Regions from separate parts of the Homo sapiens genome. Here region 1 is linked to region 2. The links are contacts of gene promoters, found by promoter capture Hi-C in human tissues and cell types (Jung and others, 2019). All regions are on one chromosome and are shown on one strand. The core of a region is centred on a gene start or on the middle of the fragment in contact, and the rest is flanking DNA. Distances in the headings are between cores, read along the strand shown. Region 1 has its middle 16 kb from the start of CXCL13. Region 2 holds the start of CNOT6L (CCR4-NOT transcription complex subunit 6 like).

Region 1 (5,567 bases), core at 728-3,227, 200 kb after region 2:
GGGCAATTTTCAGAGCTCCACAGCTGCTGCCAGCTGCATGGATAGCAGCTGAAAGAAAAGTGCTTCATTCCTTAAAGTGGATCTGATGGCCCAGCACAGCCTCCATCACACTGTATCACTTCCCCCCACCTTCACTGTGTTGCCTGGATCACCTCTAGCATAAAGTACTTTCACCCACATCCTTGGATCAAAGTTGGCTTCAACAGAAGCCTGAACTAAAACAGCCTCCCAGGAGGCTAAGCAGTTTTAAAGTAGACAGGTGTAATAGCAATAAGTGTAATAATTACTAATTATCACAGTGATAGGTGACACTTGCTGCATGTTTTACAGGTAGTGATTCACACCCTCATTTTCTTTACCTCTTAAGTGAGGGTGTTAGATTAGATGACTACTAAGATACCTTCCAACTCAAATGTTGTTCTACAATCTCCTTTTCTGTTCAAACTTAACTCACAACATAAGGTCCCACCTCTCATTTCTCCTGGGGCTCTGCGCCTATTGGCAAAGAATGGGGTAGGAAATATTTACAAAGATTAGCTTTGCTGTTTTATTTATTTAAAAGGCCACTCATTCTTTTAAGCAGAGACCTGGTGAAGAGCTGGGCCCCTGTGCTAAGGTTAAGGGGTTAATAGTGGTCGCTGCCTTCCCTGTTCTTCTGAGGTCCTGCAAATTTTGCAGAAGGTGAGGGAGTTGCTCTTACAGGCGGGGTGTTGGTAACAAACAAAATGCCCCCACAAATTTCCAATGAGTGACAGCATTTGGTGGCTCTGGCCTAGAGATGTGAGAAGCATCCCCTAATGTGCAGGAGAGTCAGGCGCCAGGAATAAAAATGCCCACAGTGTCCTGTTGAGAAGCCACAAGAGGCTATTCCTTGAGTCTTTCCACTTTCCACCTCCTATAAAGGAAAAGCATTATAGGTACATAAAATCATCTATTGAGGGAGGTTGTGTGAGGAGAAAAAGAAACTAGAGATAATCCAAATTGTAGATGTCTATATATGTGGACAAGACACATGCTTAGTTTTTCCATATTTAGTTCCACACATAATTAGAGGACATTATGAAGACTTGGCTCTCCCCGTGAACTTTCCCCCTCCATAAGCTTATGCATGGCTATGAGTCAGAATGTAGCAAATTGTATTTCTTCCAAAATTTCTTAAGGCAAACGAAGAGATAATCTGTAAAGTAGAAGAATCCTTTATTCAGTTCTCACTGCTTGTTTATTTTGAGTTTAAAATAATAAAGCACATTAATTGGAAAGGACAATAAACATTGATGGTGAGGGTGAAGACAGCGAAGTGAGTGTAGAGAAGCCGCTATCCTGCTCTGAGACCTGGCAAGCATCCTTCTCATAGGGTAATTTAGTTTGTTTTTACAGATCGTATCAATCTGTAAAGTCTATGTTTTAGGGAAGATCACCCAACCAGTAACAAATCCCAGCAGGATAAAAAGGGTGCTAAGATGTAGTTATGTAGTTATGTAATTGTAGATCTAGTTATGCAGAACAAGAGACAAATTTTTAGTAAAGCCTAGATCATAGTTTGGAGAACATCAGGTTGCTAAAACATTTTCTCTGTTTTTGGAATACATTTGGCCTGCAAAATCATAAATCATAAAAAATAAATCATGAAAAGTTAGATTGGAATCAGAGATTTGATATGCTCTAGAACTTGGTTTGACTTTGCACTTGTGTATTTAATTAAGAGACAATAGACGCATATTAAGATGTTCCAGACCAAGTCCCTAAATGTGAGCATTTCCATGACTGAAAGAGAACTCTTTTTACAATTGTCAGTGAATTTAAGGTCTGAAGGGAACGTGAGTATAGAAAGGATTGTTAATATTTGCTTGAGTTCAGAATTAATGTTTAGTTTTAAAGTTTAGGTTTATCAATTTTACATTTTCATCAAGCTCAGCCTACTAATCTTACTCTAATGTTTATATAATATTAATAATCACTTTTACATGCTGTTTAATCAATGTTAATGAACTCCACCCAACGAATATAACTGTCTTTAAACAATCAGACTAATTTACAAATTTGCTTTAATACATTCTTTTCAAGATTTTAGAATAAATATCTTATTTCACTTTTGCTAGTTATTTCAAATGCTTATGCAAGACAAAATTACAACCCTAACAAGTCTTCCTGACCACGTATGAAAATCTTGTTAATCAAATACATAATATCATACATTTTTCATGTTGAGTTTTCTTAAACATTCCAATATCCTTAAAATTTATATTAAACTTTTTTGCTTAAACTCACAGTTAAATTAGTGATACACTTCAAACTGAAGTCATGTTTTCCTGAGAGACCAGATTCTTTTACACTTTATAAATACATGAATTTGATTTATTCCATCATCTGTAAATTTAATTCTGAATGACCTTGGCTTGTAAAGTCACTTCCCCAAGTAAGGAGCAGTCATTTACGTGGCCAGATGCAGTGGTGGAAATGAAGTGGATGGATCCCAGAGATATTAAGGAGGTGGGGAAATGAAATCACTCTTGGTGAATGATTTAAAAAGGGAGGTTGTTGTTGGTGGGGGGGTCAAGGATGACACAACAGCTTAATTTTAATGGATGGCAATACCAACATTTGCCTGGACAGGGAGTATTTAGGGGAGGGGAGGCTGTGGGAAGGGTAGGGATGTGAGTTTTAGGACCAGATAGTGCCTTAGCAATTGTCTATATCACTTCTCACCCAAAGGTAAGGGAGTTGAGACTCATAAATGGAGTGATTTCTTTTTAAGTAAGAAACCTTTTAATAAAATAAGCTTCTTTGATGTTACAGAGCTAGAGAGTGACACCAGGTTTCTCCTAGACTCACTTCCTTTTAGTATTTCTGTCTCAGAAATGGACAGGATGAAGTGGGATCCTGCTAGACATCATTCTCCTTGTCTTGCCAGTCCTAGAACACAAAAAAGCAAATAGGAAAAGCAAATAGAAACCTGCCAGTACTGGAACACTGAGAAGTAAACAGAAAAAGCAAACTAAAAAAATTGCTTCCAAGATTTTGCTCACAACCTGAGATGATACAAGAAAAGGACTTAAAAAAAAAAAAACAAAACAAAACAAAACCTAAGCTTATCAATCAAGCAGGTACAGAATATAAACAACAAACAAGTCATCATTTTGCCTTTAGTAAGATGCCACACCAACACACCACCAACTTCCCAGGTTGGATAAGAGCACGGGGCCAGATGTCAAAATTGTAAAGCTTGTCCTAAGGTGGCAGGACACAAGGAAGCATTTTTGTTGTTAATTGATGTTGCCTTTAGCATTGCCAAAAACCCCCTCAGATTTTGGCCAAGGCTTTCCCAGTTACACAAATGACTTACATTAAATGGGCTGGATGATCTTACTAGTCCCAGGTCCACACTGAGGTTGCAGTTCTGTTTTGAGGAAACTCCGGGGTGCAAAGCCAGAGCACGTGGACAATGGAGGGTGCCAACAAAGAGTTGGGATACTTCCTCAATTTTTATCTTCCTTGGAATTTTAGCTTTTGCTAGGAAAATACCTTCGTTCTTTACTTTGTGAAAAAAGAGACTTGGAGGAGACTTCAAGTTCCCTTCCAGTCAGTGGGATTTAGAATTGGCCAGAGTTTCCAGGAATCACAGGCCTTTGTAGAAAGTGGAACTGCCCTACCTGCCTTTCACATGTGCACCACGAGTCGGGGGGACATGGCCCAAGTGGCTGGGTGGGCTCCCTGAGGAATCAGCAGGTCCACATTCAAGAGTCTCCGTAAGAAGTACTTAGAAAAAAGTCTCTCTTTCATTAATTTCATAAGGGTAGTGGGATAATAAAAACAGTATACAAATAAGGAGGTTGTAAAAATGTTTGCTTTTAACAAAGAGGGAAAAAATAATAACTCCAGAGACTTAAATCTAGGTTAGATGAATTGCGGCAACATGAATCCTGCTAACCCCAGTTTACAACCTCATTGCAATTGCAGTTTTCAGATTCTCATTAACTTCAGTGAAAAGTGCATCTGCCTCTGAGTTATCTTAGGTGGGCGAATGTGGGGAGATGCTTTCATTAAAAAAAAAAAAAAAAAGATCTGCTGGATATTTCCAAACCGGAATTCATTGAAGTTGCTCCTAGGCAGGAAATTTATAAGTTGAAATTAGTGATAAAACATACAAGAATTTCCAAAGCTAAGCAAAATGCCCAGCAAAATTAAAAATGTCCTCTGTCCTTGTGGACACCATGATTGCTTATCAGGGATGTCCACCATTCTGCACTGATAAAAAGTGACCACTGCATATGAAATAGCTCCTTAATTGAAAGCGAGAGTCACTGTGCCTTTCTTTGCTTACTGGTATTTTTAATTTCTAGGAGGTGGGAGGTAGAAAGAGCAGAACATGCAAATAAAGCAAATGGAAAGACACAAAGCTGGGGCTCGTGATTCAGGCAAGAACGCTGTGTGAACTAACCTGCCATTTGTGATAAAGTACTTTAGAAATGTCAATTTTATTACTGAATAATGGGTCTCAGCATGACTGAACTCTTGGCAATTATTTTACATCTAATTTGGGATGATGCATAAAAGAAAATCGAGCACAGATTACTTTAGCTTGGCACCTGGCAGCTGATAATGAACTGGTATAGATTGTCTTGCTCAGAACAATAAAGTCTCTATCTGCTGCTAGTTTCAGCTGACATTGGGCTGGTAGCCACATTTCTTCTATTCCTCTCTTTGGTCTGTTCTGGAGGTCATATGATAAGCTGTGTTTGCTGGTTTTAGGTTTCATCTTCCTGGGTCAGTTCTAGGGTACACTGCATTACCATGTTTGATGTTTCCACATTACACCATTCACCACTGGATGCCAGCAGAGCACTGCGGCTTGAAGTCAAAGGGTTGGACATGACCATTTCTAGAAGGCCAGTGGAATGGCATCAGAAATTGAACAATCCTAATTTCCTGGCATTTATGAATCCCAGTAATGACCCCAAGTTAGCTGATTTGAAAATGAGTTTATTCTTAGTTCCATAAGGGCTAGATGTTATTTTCATCTGAACATTTAGAATAATGAGATTCAGAGAATTGAATATGTTAGTGAATCATAGCAGAACCAAATTTTGATTCAAAATCTTCTAACTTCTACTTCTTTTCCTTCTCCTTAGCTTGGGGGAAGACCTAACTTGAAGAATGAGGGCTTACCTGTGAAAATTGATTGTATATTGTCTTTTGGCAGTGAGGAGGTAGGGAGAAATGTAAAAGACAAAATATAAGGGAAAAAAGCTTCTCAGTGTTAGTTGCATATAAATCACTGTTTCTTGTTGAAATGTAGGTTCTGATTCCGATTCTCCAATGTTGCTGGTTGGGAGGCCGTACTTTAAGAGTGAAGACCGTGGAGTCCCGAGTCTGGGCACCGATAGAAAAGAATCACCTGATTTCCTTGTCCGCAATCCCTGGGAGACACTCTTCAGGGTCTGACTGAATGGAAAAGGAAGCAGGGAATCCGGTCCAACGTTAATGTCACCGCCCTCACTGCCCTCTTCAATTTGAACATGGTATTTCTGGCAGTAGCCACCAGAGGGTGCTAAAGAACCTCCTTGAAA
Region 2 (5,918 bases), core at 805-3,304:
CTGGTGTTGCTAGGGAGGGAAATGGAAAATTAACATAGGTAGAAAAGAAAATAGTCTGTCGTCTTGTGAACTGAGGGGCTTTTTTACTCACTCATTCACCCATCCTGGTGCCAAGATGAAAGTGGTGCAATAGTTCTGCAATTATGGACTCTTGTAACAGCTGTTCAGTTTTAGCTAAATGATGATTTGCATTTTCACCGCACCTTTTCCCCCAAGAGATGAAGGCATTTTACATTCAGTAATAAGGCCTAAGATGAATTGCAACCAACGCAACGTGCTTAGTGTGCTAAACACTCCTGTGGGGGAAAAAATACTGAACATTGCTAATATACCCTTGACCAACACTGGTAAATACACGAGCCCGGGCATGCATTGAGAAAGAGATTAAAATTGTGCAAAACTGCAACAGCAGTACTCTGCCTCCACAGCCGGTGTAATTTGCTTTTTGGACTGCTGGCCCAAAAAAGCTGAAGCTGGCCCACAAAAACAAAAACAAACCCCAGAAACTTAAAGTATCACAGCCAGGTTCACCAAGTAAACACTACTATTTCTAGTTTGCATTTGGATGTTTTCATTCTGTAGATGGCATGGATAAGCTACAAACAACAAACTAAAGTCTACAACGAGAAGGGAGAATTAGAAAATAGGACCGGGTTATCGCTGAGCGTCACAGGTTCTTTTATTTACCTTTGACGATACAACTTACAGATGCTATATGTTTTTAAAAAAAATCCACCGAATATGTCAGGAAACATTTCCTTCGGTCACTTCACCTCCCCTGGCGTCTCAGCCACCTAGACCTACGCTCTGCTTCGCTGTCAGGTCGCCTCGGGCGAGGAGGGTGCAGTAAACAGCGCCCACACAAGAACCCGGGGTGAGGCGGTTTCCCGTCTCTTCGCCAAGGCTCTGTGGATGTGGGTTTCTGAAACTCTACCACTCTTCTCAGCCCCGCTCCTCGCTCAGGCCAGGAAAAAAGAGTGAGAAAACAGCCAGAGCAAAACAGAAAACCATTAAGAAGCCCGGGCCTCCGCGCGCTCACCGCGACAAAACGCGGCGCACGGGGGGCGGGGCCAAGGCGCTGCGTAGGAGCTCCGCCCCGTCACCGCCCCGCCTCCTTCCCCTCACCCCAACCCTCCGCGCCGGGGAGTGACTGACTCCCGCCAGCCCCTCCACGTCAATCAACCCTCCTCGTTCTCGCACTCTCTGCACCTTGTTATTAATCTCAATACCGATATCGCCCGGACGCCTCTCCCCCGGCCCTCGGGGGTGTGAACGTGTGTGAGCGGGAGCGAAGGCACCGAAAGCTGGCGTCTCTGTTCAACCTCGGCCCCAGCAGCACCCGGCGCAGCGGCAACCCCCGCAGCGGCGGCAGCCCCAGCACCAGGAGGCCAAGGCCAAGGCCAGGCTCTGCGTGGCTCTCGGAGCAGTAGCCGCGGCTCCGGCCCTGCGGGGGCGCAGCTTCCTTCGGCTGGGGCCTTCGCGCCGGCGGCCGCGGCCGCGGGGCCTCTCTTGCGCGCCTGGGGTCACTGTCCTCGAAGCCCGGCGGCGCGGCCCTCGTCCCCCTTCCCGACCCCCGGTCTGTCTCCTCGCTCCCTTCAGCCGCCTTCCGCGCCGCCGCCTCTGCCGTTCGTCAGGCGGCCCGGCCCGGCCCGCCCGCCCCGCATCCCCTCCGGCCGGTGCCTCTCCCCTCCGGCGGGCTGCCTGCATGTCTTTGCTGCCCTCAGCCCCGCCGCCACCGCCGCCGCCGCCTCCCCCGCCGCCGCAGCACCAGCACCAGCCGCCCCGTCGCCGCCGCCGCCGCCGCCGCCCGGACCCCGGCGCGCTGAATGCAGGTGAGGAGGGGGCGCGGGCCCCCCGAGACCCCGGGCCCGGGTTCCCTGCGCGCCCGCCCGCGAGCCCCGGTTACGGGCCCTGTGTGCCGCCGCGGCTTCCCCTCGGGGCGGGCGGGAGCGAGGCCCGCCGTGGGTGTTTGTGTTTGCGTCTGCGTCTGCGGCCGCGGCTCTGGAGGGGAAGCATCTGTGGGGGCCTGGTGCGCGCGCGCGCGCGTGTTTGTGTGTGTGTTTCCCCTGCCGCGGGGAAATGGCTGCTGTTGCTTCTGGGCCAGAGGAAGAGAATGAGGTAGAGTGTTCTTTTGCCTCCGAGTAGGACCGAGAGTGTTGGGAAGAGGAGCGCGTCCCCGGGGAAATGAGGTGGGAGAGGGACAAATGTGCGTGTGGGTGTGCGAGTTGGGACTTTGGCGGGCGGGGAGGCGGCCCGAGGACCCACGGCGAGTGGGTGTGTGTCGGGTGACTGGAGGGGGCGGCGGGGCTGACCCGCGTCTCTTCAGAGGCGGGCGAAGGTTCCGGGGTGTGTGTGTGTGTGTGTGTGTGTGTCGGGGGTGGCCCGGGGCCGGGACCCCAGAGTGGCGTGTCCCTCCCGCTTTGTGGCTGCGGCTCCCGAGCCTCGCAGGTGAGAGCTGCTCCTAGGGGGCCGGCCGGGGAGGGCTGAGTGAGTGCGGCACACGCGCGGCAGCGGGGCTGGGAGAGCTGCTGGTCGGTGCCGCGCCGCTGATCCCGGGGCCGCCGTTCCCCGGCCGCGGCAGGAAGCGCGCCGGCCTGCAGCGCGGCCTAACTGCCTGGGCGCCCGCCCACCTCCCCGGACGCCTCCCGGGACGGCGAGCCCGCGCGAGCCCACGGCGCTGCCTCGGGCCTGGGCAGGTGAGGGTCGGAGGCGGGACTCGCCGATTGCCGTCGCCGTGGCCGCCTCCGCGTCTCCTGAGAGGCGAAGGCTTATTTTGGCGTTCCAACTGCAAGCCTTCGCCCGGCCGGCTGTGGGACCCGAGGGAGGAAAGTGAATCAGAACAGTCAGTCTTGGGAATACGCGGTGTCGTGTTCCCTTCTTTTCATCCTTCCCCTAAGGCTGTGTGGAGGGACTGAGTAAATATTTTGGATTTTTGTTGCAAATACTTTGCCGTTGGTAAGATTTTTTTTTTTTTAATTAGACAAACATTTTCTTGGAAGGGCTGAGGAAGAAAGGGAAACTGGCTTTCCTGGCCTGTGGGATTGGATGGATTTTGTGCATTTGAAATTGTTTTATCCTGCCTCCTAGGGGGAGAGGCGTGTACGCGCCGCCGAGCTGAGGAGCTGGGTGAGGAAGAGGAAGTTACTGGAGCTGTCATCCTGCTTAACTCGGTCGGCTATTGAGCTTAGACTGTTTAGGTGGATTGTGTTCAGGGAGTTTAGCTGAGCCGTTTGTACACATTGGAAGCACAGTGTTACATTTTACCGTATTGCCTCTAGTTATCTTGTCAATCAAGATAGGCTCAACAAACATGTTTTCCTCAGTCTCCAAAAACTAGATCAAGCAACCTCTGTTGTCTACTCAGTATGTGCTGCTGGAAAGCTATTTTGAGAATAGCCTAAGCAAAACCCAGTTGTAAAGATAAACCTGCTGCCAATAGGTCTACAGTACATTTCAGAACCAAATACAAATGGCATTTGGATAATTATTTGCTAATGTGCTTTTCTACTCCAACCTCATTACATTTGTATGTAGTTAGATCATTTAGCTAGAACCGTGCTGTGGATAAAAGCATAATACAGTTTCGATCCTTGTAGGCCGTACTCTGTGTCATGGCCAGAGATTGCTCTTTGCACCTGGTCTCACAAAGAAATAGTGTATGCTGTTCACGGGGAAGTGGAGGGAAGAGAAGGAGGGGCGAAGAGCTGTTCTCTATTACCACTACTGGAAAAACAATTTAACATACGTAGTTAGTGGGAAAAGGACTTGTTTTACAGACTTCAGTTAGCCTCCCAGCTGTGTGATTTTTCCTTAGCTGTTTGACCTTAGGTAACATATCTATAAGCCACAGTTTTATCAGTCACAGAGAGCTAATACCTTTATAGTAAGGTCGTTTTGAGAATAGAATGAGAAAACATATGTTTGGCATGTAGTAGATGCTTAGTTAAATTTTAGTTCTGCCTCCTGCAGCCCTGACTATGGGCATTGAAGAACCTTTGCAAACACAAATATGATTAATTATTTAGAGCAATATTAAGTAACTATAACGTAAAAAAGACAATGGAATCTTTCAGAGCCCTTCAGTATACAAAAGGTATATATATAAACTTTAATGTATATAAGAAGTTTTTTTCTAATAATAAAAATAGTCATTAAAATAGCCTAGTTATTTATAAAAATAGTCATACTTAATTTTTTTTTCATATTTTCAAATAGACCATCTCTCAGTTTCATTATTCTTTATGATTTTCGTTTTGTAGCCCTGGAAAAAAATTTTCAACCTCTATATAGCACATGTATGTTTCAATACAGTTAAACATTAAAAAGGATCAAGGAACCAAAATTTAGATAGATCCCCAAAGTTTAAATGCTACGAAAAATGCTAGCTCATGTTGACTGATTTGGTAAATAAAACTTCTTAGAATATTTCTCTGAATATAAGGTAAAATCCTCTGTCCACTTAATTTTCAATAACTTTCCATTTTTAGTATTTTCTCTGGAGTAGGAAATGTGTTCATTAAATTTTAACTGCTGTGTGGAAAAAATAATGTCATGGAGAGGTATGGAATTTAAGGTAAAGATAACAGAAAAGTTAACATAAAGATTGTTTTCTTTTTGTTTTGGGAAAAGACAGGACAGAGAATGTGGGAGTTTGATTGGTTTAAGTTTGTCATGGCCCTATTTACAAATGCCGGGTTTCCCAGTAGGGCTTACGTAATTTATTTGTATCAATAATGATAAGCTTTAAAAAATATTATTTTCTAAAATTCAAACTAAAATTTCAACACATTCAGTATAGCTTTTATGCATATTTTTATATAAAAATTTCTGTGAAGGTAAGAGTCACAGGATGGGGAGGGGGAAGCTCTCATCATTGAGGGGCTTGAATTTTTATAAATAACTAGGGGCAACTATTAGAATGCAAATTGTGATTTTCTTAAAGTGTGTGTTGTGGGAGTGTGTATTTACATTGAACAGAATCTTCTGCCATGTGGTTATATTTAAAGGAATAATTCTTACCTTAAAACTATAAATGATACTTTTTAATACCTTAGAAACAAAGAAATAGAAATGAATCTGCTCTTATTTAGTATTTGGTAAAGTAATTTTCATTGGACTTTATGAATTATTTTAAAAGACTTTATATATATATTTTTTAATTTGGGAGAATTGGGAAGAACATTTCCCTGTAGTAATCATGAAAACAGATGATATTGAACTATAAAGATATTTGGATATGAAGTGGAAGTACTAAGGTTATTATTTAGACTAAAGGAATTATGTTACAACAAAATCAAGGTGGAAACTTGTTTAGATTTTAAAAGTTAATGTTACTTAAATGGGCTTTTAAGCAATCTTTCCAAAATATCTGTTATTAATGTCTTTAATTTGGGAGAATTGGAATACTTAGGAATTTCTGTATGTATTACTTTGGGTAATGCTAATCAGAGTAATAAATACATTCCAAAATTTCAAAGAAGTTTACTTGCTTTCATGACAGTTCCAGTGCAGATGTTTACTTGCTTTCATGACAGTTTACTTGCTTTCATGACAGTTCCAGTGCAGGTGCTCCTGGTTAGCAGGTTTCTTGTGGCTTTCCTCTTATGTTGTTTAGGGACTCATACAACTTAGATCTTGTGACTCCACCATTTCTTAGGGCCTTGGAGTCCTCCCTATTGCCTGAAGACCATTTCTTAAGAAACTCCAGACTTAAATGACAAACATTCCTCCAAATTTTATTGGCAAGATTTGTCACAGAGTCTTATTTGAATGCAAGGGGAGTGGGAAATGTCCCTGGCAGGTGGAAAGCTTGGCCATCTCTGCTACAAGGGGCATTTCATGGTGTTATTTTAGATGTTAGCATATATTTATGAAATTACATCCAAAAGGTGAATTATGATAGTTAGGAATTGCTTTCC

Evidence for each region. Contacts are between HindIII fragments. The study calls those that stand out against the background at their distance.
Region 1: a contact is called between a fragment that was not itself captured here and the fragment with the promoter of CNOT6L in region 2, in 1 of the 25 tissues and cell types used here (hippocampus).

What each region holds. Positions count from the first base shown.
Region 1 is chr4:77,618,810-77,624,376 of GRCh38, reverse strand. No RefSeq gene overlaps it. Among named protein-coding and RNA genes, the nearest start is that of CXCL13, 16 kb to the right of the region's middle. RefSeq lists a silencer at 5,507-5,567. The HindIII fragment of the contact is 4,517 bases long and covers 1-4,235 here.
Region 2 is chr4:77,815,504-77,821,421 of GRCh38, reverse strand. CNOT6L (CCR4-NOT transcription complex subunit 6 like) reads left to right here and starts at 2,054. Exons shown (of 12, transcript NM_144571.3): 1 at 2,054-2,118. The coding sequence starts at 2,114. RefSeq lists silencers at 1,008-1,157, 1,418-1,577, 1,618-1,717, 2,208-2,277, 2,358-2,757. The HindIII fragment of the contact is 8,896 bases long and covers 1-5,275 here.